Regions from separate parts of the Homo sapiens genome. Here region 1 is linked to region 2. The links are contacts of gene promoters, found by promoter capture Hi-C in human tissues and cell types (Jung and others, 2019). All regions are on one chromosome and are shown on one strand. The core of a region is centred on a gene start or on the middle of the fragment in contact, and the rest is flanking DNA. Distances in the headings are between cores, read along the strand shown. Region 1 overlaps CNOT1 (CCR4-NOT transcription complex subunit 1). Region 2 holds the start of SLC38A7 (solute carrier family 38 member 7).

Region 1 (7,240 bases), core at 297-2,796, 140 kb after region 2:
ACGAAGAGTTTGCACGCAATGTTCCTGGCTTCTTACCTACAAATGACTTAAGTCAGCCCACGGGATTTTTAGCCCAGCCCATGAAGGTAAATGTGTTTTAGATTAAATTGAGTGTTTTGCCAATTAATTTAAATGTTTTTGACATTTAATATATGTTTTTGACTTGCTTCCTGGGAGAATAATTTACAGGGGAAAAAACACCTATAGTTTTTGAGTTGTAGGTATTCTTTGTGTCCAATTAAGTATGACATACAGGGGATTAAAGAAAAATTGACATGGGTGTGGGTGATTTAACTTTAATGTTCGGCCTAATTAGGGGAATTCTCATGGTAACATAATAACTTTCGGTTTTTTATTTTTAAATTTTATTATTTATTTTTTTGAGACAGGGTCTTTCTCTGTCACCCAGGCTGGAGTGCAGTGGCGCGATCTCAGCTCATTGCAACCTCCACCTCCCAGACTCAAGCGATCCTCCCACCTCAGCCTCCTGAGGAGCTAGGACTACAGGCGTGTGCCACCATGCTCAGCTAATTTTTGTATTTTTTGTAAAGATGGGGTTTTGCCATGTTGCCTAGACTAGACTCAAACTGCTGACCTCAAGTGATCGCCTACCTTGGCCTCCCAAAGTGCTGGGATTACAGGCCTGAGCCATTGTGCCCAGCCTTCCCATTTTTTAAATAAAAGAATTTTCTAAAATTTTCAAAGGTGTTTACAGAAAACTTGGAAATATAGGGAAAAATATTTTCCCCCGAACCGGTCGATAGTAAGTTGCTGACCTGATACCCCCATCGCTCCTGAATCCTTTGGTTTGTATTTCTTACAAAACCTTTTTCCTTTGGTTTGTATTTCTTAAAAAACCCTTTTCCTGTGTGACCATGGTACAACCATTAAGGTCAGAAATGAATACTAATAACCTTACTCCATCTAATTCATAGACCTCACTCGAGTTTCACCATGTATCCCAATAATGTATAGTAAAAGACCTGTTTTAGAATCACACATTTCTTCAGTTGTCATATTTTTAAAGTCTCCCTCAGTTCTAGCTGGTGTAGGTAACTCAGTTTTTCCTCATCTTTCATGACCATAACACTTCTGAATATTATAGGCTAATTATTTTCTAAATGACTTGATTTGTTTGTCCAGTGTATTCTCATGACTAGGTTCAGGTAATGTGTTTTTAAAAATAGGAATAGCTCAGAAGTAATGCTGTATTCTTACTCTATCCTATCAGGCTTTGACAGTTGGACTGAGTACTGTATTTTTCATGGTTTGAAACACTTACTTTCTTAGGATATAGAGGGCTTAGTAGATGGTACAAGTGGTGCTGCCCTCAGTCTGTCTCATTGTTACTAATGCTCTCTTTTATCACTTGATTATGCTGCTGTCTGCCAGGTTTTCCTCTCTCAAATGAAACACCTCTTCCCTTATGCCTGCCTTGTACTGTGCCACTTGATGGTATTAATTCTGAATAGCTCAGGAAGAAGGAAAAGAAGAGGCCCTCCATGTTTGAATGTAAAAATAAGAAAAAGGGAGTAAACATACTAGTAGACCTCTATTTGATACATGTGTCAATAAAAAACCTTAACATTCTTTTGTCTCTTGTTGGTTGTTTCCTTCTGTAAAACAGCAAGCTTGGGCAACAGATGATGTAGCTCAGATTTATGATAAGTGTATTACAGAACTGGAGCAACATCTACATGCCATCCCACCAACTTTGGCCATGAACCCTCAAGCTCAGGCTCTTCGAAGTCTCTTGGAGGTTGTAGTTTTATCTCGAAACTCTCGGGATGCCATAGCTGCTCTTGGATTGCTCCAAAAGGTTGGTTCTTAAGCTATTACTTTTAGAAAATGCTAGGTGTGTAAACATTTATTGACCTGCACCACCATCTACATATTTATGCAGTTATGCTTAAGATTTCATAATATAAATCAAGTTCTGTAAGTAGGTGATTTTTTTTTTTTCCAACGTAGAATGTAGTCATGGCAGTTTTGAATGGTAAACTTGGAAATCTTCATTTTTTTTCTTAAAGATATTCTGGAAATGTGATTTGAAGAAACTTTAAAAGGTAGCCCTTTAGAGGGGTGTGTGTGTCTGTGTGTGTGTGTGTGTGTGTGTGTGTAAGAGACAGGGTCTCTCTCTGTCAGGCTTGAGTGCAGTGATGTGATCATGGGCTTAAGTGAACCTCCCACATCACCTTCTCGAGTAGCTGGTATTACAGGTGCTCACTGCCAAGCCAAGCTAATTTTTAATTTTTTTGTAGAGACAGGTCTTGCTTTGTTGTCCAGGTCGTTCTCAATCTCCTGGGCTCAAGTGGCCCTCCCTCCTGAGCCTCCCAAAGCGCTAGGATTATAGACATGAGCCACTGAGCCCAGCTGCCCTTTAGATTTTGAGGGACAAGTTGATCCAATAATTTGGATCAGGGTAGGTAGGGAGCCCTGGATTTTAACTACAGCAGAGCCTTTTATGACAATGAAGAGCACAGAATGAACTTAAATCAGATAGAATTTAGAGTGTGTGTGATAGGCAACTGAAAGGGATGTTTGGAGAGTGGAAAGGACAGGGAGGCTTTGGAAGGTATTTGGTACTTGGCATTGAGATTTGGTTTCTGGCTGTGATAGTTGGGCCAAGCACTGTATTTTTCATGGTTTTGAACGCTTTCTTTCTCCCATAGGCTGTAGAGGGCTTACTAGATGCCACAAGTGGTGCTGATGCTGACCTTCTGCTGCGCTACAGGGAATGCCACCTCTTGGTCCTAAAAGCTCTGCAGGATGGCCGGGCATATGGGTCTCCATGGTGCAACAAACAGATCACAAGGTCAGTAGCCATCTTCGAAAAGTAGTGAGTATTGGACTGCGACTGCCTTTTGACATAGATAGTACTGTTTATGTCCAGGGGTTTCCCTTTTTTCTAGTAGGTAGGTCGGACACTTAGACTTCCTACTTCTGAGAGGTGAGAATTGTTAAGTAGTTGTTTTCCATCTGGTCTCTACCTTCTCCCCATGTTGGATATAGAAAACCAGTACCTTGTTTTGGGGAATAAATTGTAGGTCATTGTTTTAAAAGGTTACAGTGATTTCTCAGAAGTGGTATTCGTGTATAAGTATTTTAATGTCTTAAATGGAATACTCTGTATCCTAGGATTTGAAAGGAAAGCTTGGGCTATCTGTTCTATTTCATTACTGGCTGTTTTTAAATTTGGACACTGATTTGGAGTTGAATCTCAAGGCATTCTTAGTTTGGAGCAAATTTCCATTGAGTAAAATGGGCCCTTTTACAGTATGGTTAAGCCTATATGAGTAAAGATATTGAACTTTTTCTAGGTGCCTAATTGAATGTCGAGATGAATATAAATATAATGTGGAGGCTGTGGAGCTGCTAATTCGCAATCATTTGGTTAATATGCAGCAGTATGATCTTCACCTAGCGCAGGTATGGAAGGAATTTACTTGCACGGACAAAAGGACTCAGGGAAGTACGTTTGCTCTTAAGTGTTTTCCCTCTCACATTATGTTTTCTGTGTTGCCAGTCAATGGAGAATGGCTTAAACTACATGGCTGTGGCATTTGCTATGCAGTTAGTAAAAATCCTGCTGGTGGATGAAAGGAGTGTTGCTCATGTTACTGAGGCAGATCTGTTCCACACCATTGAAACCCTCATGAGGATTAATGCTCATTCCAGAGGCAATGCTCCAGAAGGGTGAGGATGAAATGCTTTGAGATCCCTGTGCATTTAGTAGTCTTCTAATATCTTTAGGAATGAATATGCAGACTTACTAACATTACTTGTTATAACTGCTTTACCAACCACATATGGGTGGGTAGCTTTGGTAAGGGCTAATATTGTCACTTGAAGTATGAAAGCCTAATTGACTGCCAAGTCTTCTTGGCACAGAGCAGTACATACGGTACCAGACTTAGTGTCAGAGTCCTATGTTTAAGCCCTGGTCATGCCACTTAAAAGCTTTCTGATTTTAGGCAAATTGACTTATCCTCCTTAAACCTATTCTTTATAGAAAATGGAAATAATTTCTCAAAGAACTATTGGAAATCAAGAGAAGTAACGTAAAGAAAGCATGGTACATAGTAGGCAAACAGTGAATATTTGTCGACTCTGAACATCAGTTTCATTTAAATGAACACGTTTTTTGGGCAAGAAGTAGCTTAACTGAGGGCAGTTGTTTGTGTGTTGTATGCTCATGAGCAAGCGGATAAGAGACTAAGTATAGTTTTGTTTCAGTGTGGAAGTGGTAAAGCGAAGTGGTAAACCACTCTGGTGGTTGCTGTTAAATAAGCAAACTATACATGCGTATGTCTGTAAAATCACAACTACGAGGAGACTGATTTTCACCCTTTATTTATTGTGCTAGATTGCCCCAGCTGATGGAAGTAGTGCGATCCAACTATGAAGCAATGATTGATCGTGCTCATGGAGGCCCAAACTTTATGATGCATTCTGGGATCTCTCAAGCCTCAGAGTATGATGACCCTCCAGGCCTGAGGGAGAAGGCAGAGTATCTTCTGAGGGAATGGGTGAATCTCTACCATTCAGCAGCAGCTGGCCGCGACAGTACCAAAGCTTTCTCTGCATTTGTTGGACAGGTAGAGCTTTTGGAAAGAAAGGTGCTTTTTATTCAACATAAGTAGGGTGTGATGCCTCCAATATTAAAGCTCAGTATTGCGTACATGTGGTCAGACAGTTACCTCCATACTCATGCAAACCCAAACTGTCATCATTATATGGTTAAATTACAGCCTGTTTTCTCATGGTTGATCACTAAGCAGTAAAGGCAACATTCCCTCCCACCGTTGGTTCTGTATATTCCATTTCAGTTGTCACAGCTACAAAGTACAATGGGTCAGATAATGAATAATAAAACTACCAAATGTATTTTTACTAGCACTGATGGGACTGTGGGCTAATAAATATGTAAAATTCTCACAGTAGCCCACATTAAAAAAAAATGACAAAACAAAAATGCTTATTTAAATGGTAGAGTGTTTTATTGTATTTTCTAATTTAAATATCTACCTAAACGTAGTGACATGTTCCTTTGGAAAATACTTCCCAGTATTTTCATTAGATTTGATGCAAGTTGGACTTTGACTTAAAAGGGTTAGGAACAAAGCACCTAACTGAAAATCAAGTTTGGCAGGAATGTTTGTGAATAGGATGAACAGGAAAAATGTCGGAACCGAGCCATAGTACCATTTAGCATTCGTTTTTTATTATCACTGGTTGCTTTCAGCGACTGTGAGGGAATCAGACACAATAAGTCCATGTGTCCTAATTTATAATATAACTTGGCAAGAGTGGTACTTTTCCTGAATTGACCTTGGAATTTCCTTTATTAGAACTGTTGTAATTTTTTTTCAGGGTGAGTTGTCTGCTTATTTCTGCAGATTGACCATTATATTTCTTCAAACTGAACCCAAAACTTTTAGGTATATTGCTAAAGAAAGATTACAAATTAGGTCTCTTTTCAAATTAATGACAATTGAATGTGGAAGAACTGACTTCAATTCTAGAAGTTATTTGAAACTAGGTTTACTTTTCAGCCAGGTGCTGTGGCTCACGCCTGTAATCCCAGCACTTTGGGAGGCCGAGGCAGGCGGATCACGAGGTCAGGATATCGAGACCATCCTGGCTAACACAGTGAAACCCTGTCTCTACTAAAAATACAAAAAAATTAGCCGGGTGTGGTGGCGGGTGCCTGTAGTCCCAGCTACTCGGGAGGCTGAGGCAGAAGAATGGCGTGAACCCAGGAGATGAAGCTTACAGTGAGCCGAGATTGCACCACTGCACTCCAGCCTGGGCGACAGAGCGAGGCTCCGTCTCAAAAAAAATTAAAAAAAAAAAAGAAATTAGGTTTACTTTTCAAAATGAATGTTACTCAGTAAATCATACCGAGTATATTTCTCCCCTAAAAGAATCCAGGGAATTACAAAGCATACCCTACTGAAAAGCTATTACTGCATGTTTTATAGTCTGATTTATAATTTGAATGGAAGAAATTGGAATCCATTGGTCTTTCTGATCATTGCTATTTCGTGGGTATGGATGTGGCACCTGTCTCAGCCCTTCCTGCTGGCTTATTTGCTCTCATTTCATCTTTCTCTTGAAAAAGATAGTGTATTATACTTTTCTGTGCTGTTTTGTATCCTTTTGAAAATTCTTTCCTTCTTGCGCTCCTCCTTGACCATAGTACTCAGTCCTAATATTCCTCACTCTCTGTTAGTTTTACAGATACCAGTGTAGACAAAAAGTCCCTTTGCCATGCTGGCATTCTGTCCCAGCAGGGTACAGTATTATCGTAGTCCAACCAGTTCAGTTGTCTTTACTGCTTATCAGGAACAGTTAAGTTGTTTCAAAAATTTCAAGATAACCTTGAAGTTTTTTTTTTCGGAACTTGGTTTCTGTGTTTAGTAAGTAGTGAACTGTTCTTCCTCTGTAGCCTTAATGCATATTTTACTGTTGTCTTTTTTTGTTTGTTTGTTTAAAGGGTTGAGGGGAACTAGCCAAATAACATTCCCACTGTGCTTCACTTCTAGTTCATATGTCATATAGTTTCTAATTTTTCCTTTCTTTTAAATAAACTTGTGTTTCCCACATTATTTTAACTTAATGTAACATTTTATTACATTAAAATACCTAGATCAGATTTGTATTTCCATTTGGTACTTACCTGTTGTACAAATTATTGATTTTTCTGGGGGTAGCTTGTTGGAGTTTTAAAATCTTTGTTATTGGTTAATTCAGTTTGAGGAAATTATCTTCAAATCCTTCAGAAGTAAATTACCTTAAATTCTGTGAGAAAGTAAAATATGTGCAATTTAGTCTTCTCCTTGGAGTCCACAATGTCTTAACATGACTTACAGTTAACGAACAGTTTGTTTTATTTGCATGGTTAATTTTTCACATTATTTGGTGGGGACCTACTGTTCAAAATTGCCATGATAATCTGTCTGTCAGTTTCCATCTTCCCTGTTCTACATTAAACTTAAAACTGGAGGAATTCTGTCATGGCACCTTAATGGGAAAATAATTCTGATAATACATTTATTACAATGTAAGAATTAGAAATATGACAGTAGGAACAAATGAGAATATCTCTTAAGCCTGAAAATTAAAGGTATATGAAGTTTATTTGTGTGTGTTACCTCATTGTGTCTTTATTTTTTGTTCCTGTTGTAGATGCACCAGCAAGGAATACTGAAGACCGATGATCTCATAACAAGGTTCT
Region 2 (6,869 bases), core at 358-2,857:
TTGCGCCACTGCCCTCCAGCCTGGGCAACAGAGACCGTGTCTCTAAAAATAATAATAATAATAAAATAAATAAAAATAAGAGAGAGTTTACTTTCCCTCTCTGCTTTCCGCAATGTGAGGACACAGCAGGAAGATGGCCATCTGAAAACTATGAAGATGGTCCTCCCCAGAACTTGACTCTGCTGGCATTCTGACCTCAGTCTTGACAGCTTCCAGGACGGTGAAAAATAAATCTCTGTCGTTTAAACCACCCAGTCTATGATACTCTGTTATAGCGGCCTTAACTGATTAAGACAGTATGATTCTATTTTTTTTTTTTTTTTTGAGACAGAGTCTCACTCTGTCTCCCAGGCTGGAGTGCAGTGGCACGATCTCTGCTCACCGCCACCTCCGCCCCCCGGGTTCAAGTGATTCTCCTGCCTCAGGCTCCCGAGTAGCTGGGACTACTGGCGTGCACCACCATGCCCAGCTAATTTTTGTATTTTTAATAGAGACAGGACTTCGCCATGTTGGCCAGGCTGGTCTCGAACTCCTGACCTCAAGTGATCAGCCCGCCTTGGCCTCCCAAAGTGCTGGGATTACAGGTGTGAGCCACCGCACTCAACCAGTATGATTCAATTTATATAAACTTTTTGGAGGCCAGGCACGGTGGCTCATGCCTGTAATCCCAGCACTTTGGGAGGCTGAGGTGGGTGGATCACTTGAGGTCAGGAGTTTGAGACCAACCTGGCCAACATGGCGAAACCCCATCTCTACTAAAAATACAAAAATTAGCTGGGAGTGGTGGTGCATGCCTGTAATCCCAGGTACTCGGGAGGCTGAGGCAGGAGAATCACATGAACCCGGGAGGCAGAGGTTGCAGTGAGCAAAGATCGTGCCACTGCACCCCAGCCGGGGAGACAGAGTGAGACTCTGTCTCAAAAAAAAAAAAAAAAAAAAAAAAAAAAAAGGTGTGATTTGGGTTTCTAAGGATTCCCAGTGTGTCCTCATCGGTGAGGACCTCTGATGCATGGAGAGGTAAGTGCAGTGGAGAGCATATCCACAAAACAGAGATGAGGCTATTGGGATGCTGGAGATTACGTGACAATTTATGAGTGACACACAGCCAAGAACAGAACCAGGACTGGATGCCCATTTCGTCATTCAACAAATATTTACTGAGCACCTACAATCCCTCAAAAACTGTTCTAGAGTCTAAACCGATGGGGTCGTAACCATGCCCCCAGCCCACTCCCTTGCAGGAAAGACCGTGGCTCCAGGTCCCCCACATTACTGATTAAAAAAAAACTCCAGTGCTCTGGCCATGGGCGTGAAGGCAAGGACAGAGACCGGGAGGATAATGAGGCCAAACAGCTTTGGCCCACCGCCACCGGGACTGGCAAAGAGGCCAGACCTCCTAATGCTCTTCCTTGGAGGAAGGAGCAGTGTTTGATTTGGTCAAGAGGCCAAGACTAAAAGTAAGAGGATAAACACGAGCTGGCTGGACGCGAGGCTGGCTCAGGGCAGTGCTGTCGGGCTGAGGATTCAGGGAGCTGGTGTTGTCCAAGCTTCACATTTGCGGAAACTACAACTCCCAGCGTGTCCCGCGGCCGCCCGAGCGGGCGTCATGTGATGCATGCTCACGTGTCTCCGCAGCCGGCTCGGGAAAGAATCCCCCAAGGTAGGTGGCCGGAGACAGGCTCTGGAGGGTGGAAGTGTTAGATCCCCGAGGTCTGTGGAGCCCCTCAGTCCCCGCCACCGCGGAAAAGCTCAGACCCTTTCCCTGCAGGGGTCCAGATCCTGGCGTCCTCGCCCCACGCCCGTCCCTCTGTTGCGCCAGCTCTGCCGCGCCTTTACCCAGCCAGAGGGTCTCCACCCAGTCCTAGGCCGGGATCGGGTCCCGGAGCTCCTCCCCAGGTTACCCCACAGTAGCCCACCCTTCTCGCTCCAGGCCTGGGAATCGCCCCGCCCCGGCCTCCTGGCCCGGGTGCGCCCTGGCTCACCTCACAAAGCCTCACCTCACAAAGCAGCCCACCCTTTCTATCTCAGGGCTCCAACCCCAGGCTGGACTGGGAGCACACTCCAGTTGGGATCTGAGGGGCCTACATCGCTGGCCTGAGCATGTGGGCATCAGGCTTCTATTCTGGCTCTGCCAGCTACCCACTGTGACCTTAGTCTAACCTCTCCCTCCTGGGCCTGTTTTCCTATCTGTCCTGAAGCTCCATTTCATGAGTAAGCGTGAGAGCCGCTCAGTTTCCTCCAGCTCTGCTGAAGCCAGCACAGAAGTAGCCCAAACTCTTCCCTCTGCTGACAGCAAATTTTAGGCAAAGTCTTGAGAAAGAAGAAATTGGGTCCAGAAAGGGAAGTGAGGAGAATCAGATCCCAGACCTTTGGGGAGAAGGAGCAACCGCCTCTGGCACAGCCCATCAGGGAGAAAGAGCAGGTAAGGTGCAACAATGAGCTGAGTAATTTGCCAGTGAGCAGTGGGGGTGCCGAGAGGTCTTAACCAAGGCAGAGAATCTGCAAGAGGTGGGACCCCCAGCTTCTGAGTTCCACGAGGACCCCAGCCTGCACTCTCATGTGGGTGGCAGGAGAGGCTGGAGGATGGTGCAGGACTCGGGCAGGGGTGCCCAAGGGAAACATTTTGGTTGGAGAGTCAGGAAGCCGCACCAAGCCTTGTGACCTTGGACGAATCACTCTGTAGACCTCTGTCTCTGTGACGTGAGCAGCGGGGAGGAGATGGTCACAGCTCTGGCAGTGGTCACTTTGCAGGGTTCTTTCTCTAGCTACACTGGAAGCCTGGGAGTCCCAAGACTCTGCCTTCGCTGCTCACTGCTTTGATTTTGCTGAGTTGCTGGTTGGGTGACAGGATGTGTAAGAGGATGTGTAAGCCCTGTGACATCTGACAGATCTTTCTGGGTTTCGAGCCAGCAGAGGAATGTTTCCTCTGGTGCCATGTCCCTTGGTTCCATGCTTGATAACAGATGGCTGAGAGCACATGAACTTTCACCCTTTCCCTCTCATGAGTGGATGGTCCCCAGCTTTGTTTGTCCATCATCAGGAGGAGCAATGGGAAGTAGTCCAAGGGGTCTTGTTAGTCATTTTAAACCCCCAGTGGGCTGAAGGCATCAGAGAGGGTGGCCCAATGGTTAGGGCAGTCATTATGGCTGAATATGCTCAGTTCCCTTTTTTTCCCTCTGGGCTATAAAGACTAAACCAGGCTGGGGGCTGTGGCTCACGCCTGTAATCCCAGCACTTTGGGAGGCCGAGGCAGCAGGATTGCTTGAGCCCAGGAGTTCAAGACCAGCCTGGGCAACATAGTGAGACCTCCTCATCTCTACAGAAAATTTAAACATGACAGGCGTGGGGGGCTTGTCACGTGGGAGAAGTCACATGGGAGAAGAGTTGAGAATTGGCCTGAATTTTGAAAGGCCAATTTTGTTCCCCACAGGAACAAAAAATTTAAAAAGTTGGCCAGGCGTGGTGGCTCACGCCTGTAATCCTAGCACTTTGGGAGGCCAAGGGGGATCACAAGGTCAGGAGTTCAAGACCAGCCTGGCCAACATGGCAAAACCCCATCTCTACTAAAAATACAAAAATTAGCCAGGCATGGTGGCGGGCACCTGTAATCCCAGCTACTCAGGAGGCTGAGGCAGGAAAGTCTCTTGAACCCGGGAGGCAGAGGTTGCAGTGAGCTGAGATTGTGCCATTGCACTCCAGCCTGGGTGACAAAGCAAGACTCCGTCTCAAAAAAAAAAAAAATTTTAAAAGTTAGCTGGCTGTGGTGGCACACACCTGTAGTCCCAGGTACTCGGGAAGTTGAGGTGGGAGGATTGCTTGAGCCTGGTAGATTGAGGCTGCAGTGAGCTCTGATTGCGCCACTGCACTCCAGCCTGGGCAACAGAGTGATACCCTGTCTCTAAATAAATAAAGACTAAACCAGGGAGGGAGTAGAGATTAAAATGGAGTTTTGTATGAGTACCGTGAAATCGGGACTCAGGAATGAGGAGACTCTAGGAGAAGGAGTCTTTGGCAGATTTCGCCAGCCTGGGTGGTAACCAGCTAATAGCAGCCTCTGGGGAAGACTGCCCTGGCTCCTCCCTGCCCCCTTAGTTCCTGCCCTTGAAATCTGGCCTTCTTCCTGCTCTTTCTCCCATTAGCTATCCCAGGGCCTCTGTGCCCATTGTTACCTGGCCAATAGCACCAGGCTGTGGTTTGAGTTTTGTTTGTTTGTTTGTTTTGAGATAGAGTCTCACTCTGTCGCCCAGACTGGAGTGCAGTGGCGTGATCTGGGCTCACTGCAAACTCTGTCTCCTAATTTCGGGCGATTCTCCTGCCTCAGCCTCCTGCACAGCTGGGATTACAGGGGTGCACCACCACACCTGGCTAATTTTTGTATTTTTAGTAGAGATGGGGTTTCACCATGTTGGCCAGGCTGGTCTCAAACTCCTGACCCCAGGTGATCTGCCCACCTCGACCTCTCAAAGTGCTGGAATTACAGATGTGAGCCACCACACCCGGCCCAGGCTCTGGTTTTGATCAGTGTTCTGCTCCCTGCTTGCTTAGGGCTGGAGAGTCTCAGGCATGGTGGTGGTGGGCAACATGGGAAGGGGCATCTGCAGAAATAACAGCAGCAGTGACCATTTATTGAGTCTTAAACCCTTACTGATATTAACACACGACCCACAGGAACATATGATGTAAAGGCCTAAAGGGGCGAAGTGACTTGCCCAGGGTCACACAGATAGGCAGCGGAGGAGTCAGCATTCTGACGGCAGAACCTACTCGGAGACCCAGATCACAGCCCTGCCCAGGGCTGCTCTTGATCTGGGGGTGGACTTGATGCTTTAGGACCATCATTTCTCTGCGGGTCTCAGGCTATGAGCTGAACCTTGAGAACACTGAAGATCCTTTTTCAGGGCTGGGCTCCTCAGAGCCTCTCGAGATTCTTGGAAGAAAAAAAACTGCATCTCAATTGTGTTTATCCAGAGAGCAAAGAGAATCAGTCAGGTGATAAGCCTGTTATCTGAGTTCTGCCATACCCAAGGTACCATCTTGGACCCAGGAGTGGGGCAGATACAAACAGATGGATGCCCTATGGTCAGACAGGCCTGGGTTTGAATCCCAGCTCCACCACTGACCGCCATATGACTGAGGGGAGAGTGGTTATCCCCTCTGGGATTCAGCTTCCTCTTTGGTAAAATGGTGACTGTCATGTCTACCTTTTAGGGCTGCATTGAGGATTGAATGAGAAAGCATTCCATAGCTGCAGCAATAGTGGTTTATAGTGACAAACAGCACTGCATGTTTGGCACTGATCATTGTAATCTAGCCCAGGAAAGCAAGCCTAGTGGCCAGTGAGATGCTAGCACATGAGAGAGTACTGAGAAGAAACCAGCTAGAGTGGTTCTGGGCCCCTACATGGCTCCAAGAAGAGCTCAGTGAGTGACCCAGGAAATGGGGAAGAAATAGGACCTAAAAGGGTGGCGGCAAAGGAGTTGGGAGCATTAGAAGCATGGGATGAATCACTGTTTTCCTGAAGACGCAAACATGACAGGCATGGGGGCTTGTCACATGAGAGAAGAGTCGAGAATTGGCCTGAATTTCGAAGGGCCTCGAAAGCCACAGAATTCAGACTCCAGGCCACCGGGAGGCGTGCTGGACTGTAATATGTTGAATCTCAGTTCTTGGTAAGGGGTCCTTTTGGGACCCTGTGGGGTGGAAACAGGCTGGGAAGCCAGACAGATCTGGATCCAAATCCTGCTATGCAACTTGCTAATATATGACCCTGGGTCAGTGATGGGATCTCTCCGAACCTTTTGACCACAAGACCATCCTAAGGATTGAATGAGATAAAGTATATCCATGACACACCTGCCCGATGCGGGGCCTCTATCGAGTGCTGATGTGTTAGTACCCATTTTATGTTGACATCTAACTGGTCCATTGAGTCTGTATGCCTGAAGCAAGCATGATTTGCACCTGATCTGTTTCTGTGTCTGTCTCCCCATACTCTGGCACCCAGTGCACTGTCTGCACAGAGGCATACCTGGGTTTGGACCCTACCCATGTGATCTTGGGAAAGTTATTACACCTTTTTGTCCCCTAGTTCCCCCATCTTAGGATAACAGTAGTGCCTGCCTTTGTCCCATCTAGGTTGAGAAGAGTCCTAAGCTAACAGCCCCAAACAGGTGGGTGTTGCTCAGCTCCCTGAGGCATGTGGTTGTAAGGCAGAACCCACAGACCTTGCAGGAAGAAGGCTCTCGGGGCCATGGCCCAGGTCAGCATCAACAATGACTACAGCGAGTGGGACTTGAGCACGGATGCCGGGGAGCGGGCTCGGCTGCTGCAGAGTCCCTGTGTGGACACAGCCCCCAAGAGTGAGTGGGAAGCCTCTCCTGGGGGTCTGGACAGAGGCACCACTTCCACACTTGGGGCCATCTTCATCGTCGTCAACGCGTGCCTGGGTGCAGGGTTACTCAACTTCCCAGCAGCCTTCAGCACTGCGGGGGGCGTGGCAGCAGGCATCGCACTGCAGATGGTGAGTGCACTGGCCGGGAGGGCAGAGGTGCAGTTCAGTTGGGCGCTTTGCCTCAAAAGGGAGGCTTCGGGTCAGGGATGGCCAGTAAGTGATACACGCACTGCTCTCCCCTCCCTCACACATGGCAGACATGACTAATCTATTCTAGTATTCTTTCCTGTGACCCAAATGAGGCTTCAGAAGCCTTCCAACAATCAGAGAAATTTGAACATCAATTACATCTCTAATTTTTTAGGTGTAACATTGATTTTGTGGTATGTTTAAAAAGAGGGCCCTTATCTTTTAGAACTACATACTGAAATATTTATTGATGAAATGATATGATAGCTTATATTGGCTTCACAATAAA

The links. The method cuts DNA at HindIII sites, captures the fragments that hold promoters and counts their contacts. A contact is called where the count stands out against the background at its distance.
Region 1: a contact is called between a fragment that was not itself captured here and the fragment with the promoter of SLC38A7 in region 2, in 6 of the 25 tissues and cell types used here (H1 embryonic stem cells, bladder, hippocampus and 3 more).

Annotation. Positions count from the first base shown.
Region 1 is chr16:58,534,347-58,541,586 of GRCh38, reverse strand. CNOT1 (CCR4-NOT transcription complex subunit 1) reads left to right here. Exons shown (of 49, transcript NM_016284.5): 34 at 1-86; 35 at 1,628-1,819; 36 at 2,673-2,815; 37 at 3,321-3,429; 38 at 3,527-3,696; 39 at 4,367-4,598; 40 at 7,192-7,240. Among named protein-coding and RNA genes, the nearest start is that of SNORA46, 11 kb to the left of the region's middle. The HindIII fragment of the contact is 7,254 bases long and covers 1-5,173 here.
Region 2 is chr16:58,679,508-58,686,376 of GRCh38, reverse strand. It overlaps SLC38A7 (solute carrier family 38 member 7), which reads left to right and starts at 1,607. Exons shown (of 12, transcript NM_018231.3): 1 at 1,607-1,660; 2 at 2,199-2,422; 3 at 6,136-6,520. The coding sequence starts at 6,251. RefSeq lists enhancers at 1,821-1,880, 1,391-2,235. The HindIII fragment of the contact is 12,070 bases long and covers 1-4,466 here.